2 separate regions of the Homo sapiens genome follow, and region 1 is linked to region 2. The links are contacts of gene promoters, found by promoter capture Hi-C in human tissues and cell types (Jung and others, 2019). All regions are on one chromosome and are shown on one strand. The core of a region is centred on a gene start or on the middle of the fragment in contact, and the rest is flanking DNA. Distances in the headings are between cores, read along the strand shown.

Evidence for each region. The method cuts DNA at HindIII sites, captures the fragments that hold promoters and counts their contacts. A contact is called where the count stands out against the background at its distance.
Region 1: the fragment with the promoter of TMED9 here is called in contact with a fragment that was not itself captured in region 2 in 2 of the 25 tissues and cell types used here (bladder and spleen).

Annotation. Positions count from the first base shown.
Region 1 is chr5:177,588,366-177,593,452 of GRCh38, forward strand. It overlaps TMED9 (transmembrane p24 trafficking protein 9), which reads left to right and starts at 3,838. Exons shown (of 5, transcript NM_017510.6): 1 at 3,838-4,033; 2 at 4,210-4,310. The coding sequence starts at 3,850. RefSeq lists an enhancer at 5,043-5,087. The HindIII fragment of the contact is 6,732 bases long and covers 1-5,087 here.
Region 2 is chr5:177,637,229-177,642,044 of GRCh38, forward strand. It overlaps the pseudogene SIMC1P1. Among named protein-coding and RNA genes, the nearest start is that of B4GALT7, 40 kb to the left of the region's middle. The HindIII fragment of the contact is 3,674 bases long and covers 851-4,524 here.

The DNA of each region.
Region 1 (5,087 bases), core at 2,588-5,087, 48 kb before region 2:
TTTGAAAAGACTGATAAAATTGACAAACCTCTTACAAGACTGATACAGAAAAAAGAAGACATAAATCACCAGTATCAGTAATGAAACGGGTGACATCAGTACAGACCCTGCCCACATCAGAAGGATCATAAGAGAATAATTCCACGGACAACTTTACATACATATGTGGGGGTGTGTGCTGCAGACCTCAACTCAACGACAGATGAATAATGTACACTGACACAGATATTCTGCTTGTCAGTCAGGCCGATTGTCCAGGCCCCCTACAGACTCCCAGGAGAGTGCTGTACATTTGCAACGTGGCCCCGACTCCCCGCCTCCTACTCGCTGGCCTTCTCGTCATTTACTTAGCACACATTAAACACAGCAAAAGTCTCAAGTAAACACCATTAGAGGGTAATCAACCTGGTCGCCTTCCCCTGCCTCCCCCAGAGCGCCATCCTGCCCGCGAATGATTAAAGGTTACTTTTAGAACCACATGAGTAAACAAGCTATTTAGATAGACTCCTCTACATTCCTATGTTACTTACCCTTGCTATGGCTCAAAGAGGATTAGGCCGCTTTCAGCCAAACTATCTGAAGCTAAGCAAAAACCTTTTGGCCTTCCAAGTTTTGTGTTTTATTGTATAATTTTCCCCACCATCCTGACTGAACCTCTACATACATAAATGTAACAATTTAGGCAAAATAGATCAATTACTCAAAAAGCACACACTATCACAACTTACTAGTATGAAATAGATACTTTGAATAGCCCTATAGCTATTAAGGAAATTTAATTCATAATTAAAACACTCCCCAAAAGGAAATTTCAAGGCCCAGATGATTACACTGGAGCATTCTACCACACTTTTGTTTTTTTTTTTGAGATGGAGTTTCACTCTTGTTGCCCAGGCTAGAATGCAAAGGTGCCTTCTCAGCTCACCAAACCTCTGCTTCCCAGGTTCAAGTAATTCTCCTGCCTCAGCCTCCCGAGGAGCTGGGATTACAGGCATGTGCCACCACACAGGCTAATTTTGTATTTTTAGTAGAAACAGGGTTTCTCCATGTTGGTGAGGCAGGTCTCGATCTCCTGACCTTGTGATCCTCCCGCCTCGGTCTCCCAAAGTGCTGGGATTACAAGCGTGAGCCACCGTGCCCGGCCAAAGTTGACTGTTTTTAACTGTACACTTCAGTGGGATTAAGTACATTATATTGCCATAGAACTCTCACCACCATCCATCTACAGAACTCTTTTTATCTTGGAAAACTGAAACTCTATACCTATTAAACAATAACTTCACTCTCCCTGTCCTCCAGTCCCTGGCAACCACCATTCTGCTTTCTGTCTCTGTGATTTTGACGACTCTAGTACCTCATATACATGGAATTACCCAGTATTTATCATTTTATGTCTGGCTTAGTCCACTTAGCGTAATGTTTCTTCAAGATTCATCTATGTTGTAGCATGTGTCAGAATTCCCATCCTTTCTAAGGCTGAAAGGATTTCCATTGTGTGGATGTACCATATTTTGCTTATCTATTCATCTACTGATGAAGAACTGGGTTGCTTCCATTTTTTTTTTTGCTTGTGAATAATGCTGCTGTGAACATATGTGTACAAATATCTCTTTGAGACCCTACTTTTAATTATTTTGAGGATATCTCTAGATATGGACTTGCTGAATCATATGGTAATTCTATTTTTATTTATTTATTTTGAGACAGTGTCTTGCTTTGTCACCCAGGCTGGAGTGCAGTGGCATGATCACAGCTCACTGTAGCCTTGACCTCCCAGGCTCAAGCAATCCTCTTGCCTCAGCCTCCTGAGTAGCTGGGACTACAGGCGCATGCCACCAGATCCAGTTAATTTTTGTATTTTTTGTAGAGATGGGGTTTCGTCATGTTGCCCCGACTGGTCTCGAACTCCTGGGCTCAAGCAATCCTCCTGCTTCTGCCTCCCAAAGCGCTGGAATTATAGGCGTAAGCCACCATGCCCAGCCTATTTTCACTTTTTTGAGGAATCATTATACGGTTTTCCACAGTGTCTGTACCATTTTACATTCCCACCAACAGTGCACAAGGGTTCAATTTCCCCACATCCTTGCCAATGCTTGTAGTTTCTTTCTTTTCCTTTTTTTTTTTCTAGTGGCCATCTTAATGGGTATATGACGTAGTATCTCATTGTTCTTTATCTCATTGTGATTTGTGTTTCTCTAATGATTAGTGATGTTGAGTATCTTTTCATGTGCTCACTGGCCACTTGTTGATCACTGGAGAAATGTCTATTCAAGCCCTTTGTTGTGGTTTTTGAATGAGATTGTTCTTATTTTGTTGCTGAGTTTTAGGAGTCTCTGCATATTCTGGATATTAATCCTTTGTCAGATATATGATTTGCAAATATTTTCTTCCATTCTGTGGGTTGCCTCTTTACTCTGCTACAGAGTCTTTTGATGCACAAAATGTTTTAATTTTCATAAAGTCCAATTTGTCTATTTTTTCTTTTGTTGCCTGTGCCTTTAGTGTCATATCCAGGAAGTCTGTTGCCAAATCCGATGTGGTAAACCCTTTGCCATATGTTTTCTATGAGTTTTATGCTTTGGGATTTTAAAAGTTGTGGGTCTTTTTGGGTGAATTTTTATCTATGGTGTTAGAGAAGGAACCACCTTCACTTTTTTGCATGTGGATATCCAGTTTTCCCAGCACCATTTGTTAGAAAGACTGTCCCTCCTCCCCGCATTGAATGGGCTTGGTCTCCTTGTTAAAAATTATTTGACCATATATGGGAGGGCATATCTTGGGGCTCTCTATTGTATTCCATTGGTCTATATGTCTGTCTATATGCCAGTACCACACTGTCTTGATGACTGAAGCTTGGAAGTAAGTTTTGAAATCAGGAAGTGTGAGTTCTTCAGCTTTATTCTTATTTTTCAGGATTGTTTTGGCTAATCGAAATCCCTTGAGAGTATATGAATTGTAGAATGAGTTTCTCTGTTTCTACAAAAAATGTCATTGGGATTTTGACAGGAATTGCATTAAATCTGTAGATTGCTTTGGATAGTATTGACATCTTAACTATATTAAGTAAGGATGATTTTTTTTAAATTACTGATTCAATCTCCTCACTAGTTATAGGTTTATTCAGATTATATTATCTATTCTGAGTCAGTTTTGCATTTCTATGAATTTGTCCATTTCATCTACGTTATCCAATTTGTTGGCTTATATTTGCTCATAGTACTCTCTTATGATCCTTTCTATTTCTGTAGAATTGCTAGTAACGAGCCATTGCAGTTGGGATCTGGCAGCAGAGGCTGTGTGTGTGTTTGTGTGTGTGTGTGATCGGAGAAATGCTTGAGAGGGTAACACCCGATTTAGGAGTGGACAGGGTATGAGGACAAAGAAGTGGTAATGGGAGACCTTGCCTTTTATTTCTTTTAATCTTTTTTGATAATACATTTGTGCATTATTTGGTCGTTCTCTTTAAATTCATTTTTAAAGGTAGAAGCAAATCAAGACTGGTAGATGCTGTGCCAAGGAAAGTCAGGGATCCTAGGTTCGAATCCTGTCTCTGTTCGCAATTCGCTCCGCAACCTCAAACAAACGACCTCAGTTTCATCTATGAAAAGCTGGTAACCATCGTCAGTTGCCAGGCCATGAAGAGAGTCAACGGAAATAAGTTTTTATTCTAGGGCACCCGCTCTCTCTCAGGTAAAAGCCGCGCCCCAATCAGGTACTGCCGCGCCAGGGCCGCGGGACATCTCGGGATTTGTGGTCCACCCGGCGGAACTCGCGGTCCCGGCAGGCACCGCGGCGGCGGCAGGGCGACGTGGCGCGGCCGGCTGCGGCTGCGCAGGCAGGTGGAGCAAGATGGCTGTGGAGCTGGGCGTGCTGCTCGTCCGGCCCCGGCCCGGAACCGGGCTGGGTAGAGTGATGCGGACCCTCCTGCTGGTGCTGTGGCTGGCGACGCGCGGAAGCGCGCTCTACTTTCACATCGGAGAGACGGAGAAGAAGTGCTTTATTGAGGAGATCCCGGACGAGACCATGGTCATAGGTGCGGGGGCGGGGAGGAAGGGGCGAGTTTGGAACGTGACCGTGGTCTTGGGGCGGGGGATGCGAGACAGTCAGCTCTCTAGAGCCGGGAGGAGACGGCCTCGCCGTGCCCAGGCGGTCGCGGAACCCATGCCACCTCGCGCTCCTCTGACCTGGGCTCGCCCTGCTTCCCTCAAGGAAACTACCGGACGCAGCTGTATGACAAGCAGCGGGAGGAGTACCAGCCGGCCACCCCGGGGCTTGGCATGTTTGTGGAGGTGAAGGACCCAGAGGACAAGGTGAGCCAACCGCCCCCCTCCTCTCCGCCAGCCTCTCAGCTAGGCGGGCTCCGGTACTTCCTCTTCTAGTTCCTGCATCTGCTAAAGTGGGAGAGACAGTTGATGTTGTGGGAATATCCTGCTGACTTGCAGACCCCGCCCGGTCTGTGAAATGGGCGGATTAATTGTGGTGATAAAAATCAAAGAGTTTTGTCAACTCTTAAAGTCATCTAGACTTTAAGATTTCACAGAACATGATACTTTCCCCACAAAATGAGCAGCTTTTAATCTTCCCAAGTAAGGATATTAAAACGAACGGCAAAACCCTTCAGCTCTCACCTTCTGTCACTTTTCGTTAAAAAACTCATGGCGGGGTGTGGTGGCTCTTGCCTGTAATCCCAGCACTTTGGGATGCCGAGGCGGGTGGATCACTTGAGGCCGGGAGTTCAGGACCGGCCTGGGCAACCTCCGTCTGGCAAACCCCGTCTCTAGTAAAAATACAAAAAAAAAAAAAAAAAAAAATGAGCCGGGTGTGGTGGCGCACACCTCTAATACCAGATACTTGGGAGGCTAAGGCACGATAATTGCTTGAACCTGGGAAGCTGAGGCTGCAGTGAGCTGAGATAGCATCACTGCACTCCAGCCAGGACGACAGAGTGAGACTCTGTCTCAAAAACAAAAACAAAAAAGAACCCCCCAAAAAACAACTCACACCAAAAAAGTTGAAAGGGCATAAGCTATAAAGGAAAGCCCTTCCCAAGAGCAGTCAGTCACTTGCCACCCTAATGTCAGACTCTC
Region 2 (4,816 bases), core at 1,438-3,937:
GGGTGCTCCTGTATTGGGTGCATATATATTTAGGATAGTTAGCTTTTCTTGTTGAATTGATCCCTTTACCATTATGCAATGGCCTTCTTTGTCTATTTTGATCTTTGTTGGTTTAAAGTCTGTTTTATCAGAGACTAAGATTGCAACCCCTGCCTTTTTTTGTTTTCCATTTGCTTGGTAGATCTTCCTCCATCCCTTTATTTTGAGCCTATGTGTGTCTCTGCACGTGAGATGGGTCTCCTGAATACAGCACACTGATGGGTCTTGAGTCTTTATCCAATTTGCCAGTCTGTGCCTTTTAATTGGAGCATTTAGCACATCTACATTTAATGTTAATATTGTTATGTGTGAATTTGATCCTGTCATTATGATGTTAGCTGGTTATTTTGCTCGTTAGTTGATGCAGTTTCTTCCTAGCATCGATGGTCTTTACAATTTGGCATGTTTTTGCAGTGGCTGGTACTGGTTGTTCCTTTCCATGTTTAGCACTTCCTTCAGGAGCTCTGGTAAGGCAGGCCTGGTGGTGACAAAATCTCTCAGCATTTGCTTGTCTGTAAAGGATTTTATTTCTCCTTCACTTATGAAGCTTATTTTGGGTGGATATGAAATTCTGGGTTGAAAATTCTTTTAAGAATGTTGAATATTGGCCCCCACTCTCTTCTGGCATATAGAGTTTATGCCGAGAGATCAGCTGTTAGTCTGATGGGCTTCCCTTTGTGGGTAACTCGCCCTTTCTCTCTGGCTGCCCTTAACATTTTTTCCTTCAACTTTGGTGAATCTGACAATTATGTGTCTCAGAGTTGCTCTTCTCGAGGAGTATCTTTGTGGCATTCTCTGTACTTCCTGAATTTGAATGTTGGCCGGCCTTGCTAGGTTGGGGAAGTTCCCCTGGATGATATCCTGAAGAGTGTTTTCCAACTTGGTTCCATTCTCCCTGTCACTTTCAGGTACACCAGTCAGATGCAGGTTTGGTCTTTTCACATAGTCCCGTATTTCTTGGAGGCTTTGTTCGTTTCTTTTTACTCTTTTTTCTCTAAACTTCTCTTCTCGCTTCATTCATTTGATCTTCAGTCACTGATACCCTTTCTTCCAGTTGATCAAATCAGCTACTGAAGCTTGTGCATGCATCACGTAGTTCTCGTGTCATGGTTTTCAGCTCCATCAGTTCATTTAAGGACTTCTCTTCACTGGTTTATTCTAGATAGCCATTCGTCTAATCTTTTTTCAAGGTTTTTAGCTTCTTTGCGATGGGTTCAAACATCCCCCTTTAGCTAGGAGAAGTTTGATCATCTGAAGCCTTCTTCTCTCAACTCGTCAAAGTCATTCTCCGTCCAGCTTTGTTCTGTTGCTGGCAAGGAGCTGCATTCCTTTGGAGGAGAAGAGGCACTCTGATTTTTAGAATTTTCAGCTTTTCTGTTCTGGTTTCTCCCCATCTTTGTGGTTTTATCTACCTGTGGTCTTTGATGATGATGACGTACAGATGGGGTTTTGGTGTGAATGTCCTTTCTGTTTGTTAGTTTTCCTTCTAACAGTCAGGACCCTTAGCTGCAGTTCTGTTGGAGTTTGCTGGAGGTCCACTCCAGACACTGTTTGCCTGGGTATCACCAGTGGAGGCTGCAGAACAGCAAATATTGCAGAACAGCAAATGTAGCTGCCTGATTGTTCCTCTGGAAGCTTCATCTCAGAGGGGCACCCGGCTATGTGAGGTGTCGGTTGGCCCCTACTAGGAGGTGCCTCCCAGTTAGGCTACTCAGGGGTCAGGGACCCACTTGAGGAGGCAGTCTGTCCGTTCTCAGATCTCAAACTCCATGCTGGGAGAACCACTACTCTCTTCAAAGCTGTCAGATACGGACATTTATGTCTGCAGAAGTTTCTGCTGCCTTTTGTTCGGCTATGCCCTGCCCCTACAGGTGGAGTCTACAGAGGCAGGCAGGCCTCCTTGAGCTGCGGTGGGCTCCACCTAGTTTGAGCTTCCTGGCTGCTTTACCTACTCAAGCCTCAGCAATGGCGGGCACCCTTCCCCAAGCTTCGCTGGCACCTTGTAGTTTGATCTCACACTGCTGTGCTAGCAATGAGTGAGGCCCCGTGGGCATGGGACCCTCTGAGCCATGCGCAGGATATAATCTCCTGGTGTGCTGTTTGCTAAGACCGTTGGAAAAGCACAGTATTAGGGTGGGAGTGACCCCATTTTCCAGGTGCCGTCTGTCACAGATTCCCTTGGCTAGGAAAGGGAATTCCCTGACCCTTTGTGCTTCCCGGGTGAGGCGATGCCTCGCCCTGCTTCGGCTCTTGCTTGGTGGGCTGCACCCACTGTCCTGCACCCACTGTCCGACAAGCCCCAGTGAGATGAACCCGGTACCTCAGTTGGAAATGCAGAAACCACCCGTCTTCTGCGCTGCCCACGCTGGAAGCTGTAGACTGGAGCTGCTCCTATTCGGCTATCTTGGAACCTAGGATTTCTATATACGTTTCTATATGTGTGTTGTCTGCAAATAAGTCTTACTTCCTTTCCAATCTGTATGCCTTTTTTTTTGCCTTATTGCAATTGCTAAGGCATTCAGTATAATTCTGAATAGAAGTGCCAAGAACAGACATTCTTGCTTTTTGTTTTTTGAGATGGGGTCTCACTATGTCACACAGGCTGGAGTGCAGTGGAGTGATCCTATGACCTCAGCCTCCTATGTAGCAGGGACTGCAGGTGTGTACCACCATGTCCAGCTTTTTTTTTTTCGTAGAGACGGGATGTCACTACAGACTGGTCTTGAACTCCTGGGCTCAAGTAATCCTCTTGCCTTGGTCTCCCAAAGTGGTGGGATGACCAGCGTGAGCCATTGTGCCTGGCCCTTGTTTTATTTCTTTTTAATTTTTATAAGTGCATAGTGTGTGTGTGTGTGTGTGTGTGTGTGTGTGTGTGTATAAATATAAAAAATATAATTATATATATAAAATTATATATAATTATATATAATATATAATATAATTATATATTATATAAAATTATATACAATATATAATTATATATTATATATTATATAAATTATATATATTATTATATAACATATAATTATATATTATATGAAATTATATAAAATTATATATTATATAAAATTATATATTATATAAAATTATATAATTATATATTATTATATATATTATATATTATATATTATATATAATTGTATATTATATATACAAATTATATATACAAATAATTATATATTAGATATTATATATAATAATTATATATATCTATGGGGTACATATTTTGAGACAGGAATATTTTGAGACATTGTATAATGTGTAATAATCACATCAGGGTAAATGGGTATCCATCACCTCAAGAATTCATTTCTTTGTTAAGAACATTCCAATTGGACTCCCTCAGTCATTCTGAAATGTATAATAAAATATTGCTTACTGTAGTCACCTTGTTGTGCTATCAAATACTAGATCTTATTCATTGTATCTAAAAATATTTTTGTACCCATTAACCATCCATTCTCTCCCAACCCCCTACTCCCCTTCCTAGCCTCTGGTAACCATCATTCTACTCACTATCACCATGAGTCTAATTTTTAGCTCTCACAAACAATGAGGACATGCAAAGTTTGTCTTTGTGTGCCTAACTTATTTCACTTAACAGAATGTCGTCCAGTTCTGGAAGGTTATTAATAATTATTGATTCTATTTCTTTATTGGATATAGGTCTACTTAAATTATCTACTCATACACTTTTTTTTTTGAGACAGAGCCTTGCTCTGTCACCCAGGCTGGAGCGCAGTGGTGAGATCTTGGCTCACTGCAACCTCCGCCTCCAGGGTTCAAATGATTCTCAGGCCTCAGCCTCCTGAGTAGCTGGGATTACAGGTGCCTGCCACCATGCCTGGCTAATTTTTGTATTTTTAGTAGAGACGGGGTTTTGCCATGTTGGCCAGGCTGGTCTCGAACTCCTGATCTCAGGTGATCTGCCCACTTTGGCCTCTCAAAGTGCTAGGATTACAGGCCACCATGCCTGACCCCTCTTTACTCTTCCCTCTCCTCCTGGTGCTGTGAGTTGTGCTGCCTGAAGTTGGGGAAGGGGTGACATAAGCTTTCCCTTGGCTGCCCCAGTTGGTGTCTCACTGGATCATGTGGACCCCAAATCCACTAGATGTGAGCCCAACACAGCACCAGGACTTGTGCAGGAATTGCAGTCCTTGTGGCCTAGACTGCCTTTCAAATTTATTCAGCACCCCAGAGCACCTTAGCCCATGGTGGTGGGGCTAGCTGGAACTCAAGTTCCGACTGCTAGGACGGGCAATTTGCCTCTGGCTATGTCTGTTCTAAATGCTTCTGCTGTGGGCACTGGCCAAATTCTGCCGCGTGTTGTTTTCTGCTGTGACAGGGCTGCAGTGAGTTCCGATGCAAAGTCTCACAATCACTTCGCTTTCTCTTCCCCAAGCACACAGATTCTCTCTCCACATCATACTGCACTGCTGGATGACGGAGGAGGTGTGGTATAGGCAATTCAAGACTATCTTTCCTAACTTCTTCAGTGCCTCTTTCCTTAATATGTTAAAACCAGGTACTGTGATTGCTCACCTGAGTTTTAGTTCTTCTGAAAGTGCTTTCTTGTGTGGATAGTTGTTCAAGTTGGTGTTCTTGCTTGGGGGACAAATGCTGGAGGGTTCTATTCAGCCATCTTGCTCTGCCTTCCCTGCTTGTTCTTGAACTTAGAAGAAAGAATTTCAGACTTCCATCATTAAGTATAATTCTAGCTGTGGGGTTTTCACAGACGCCTTTAAGGAAGTTCTCTTCTTTTCTTAGTTTACTCAGA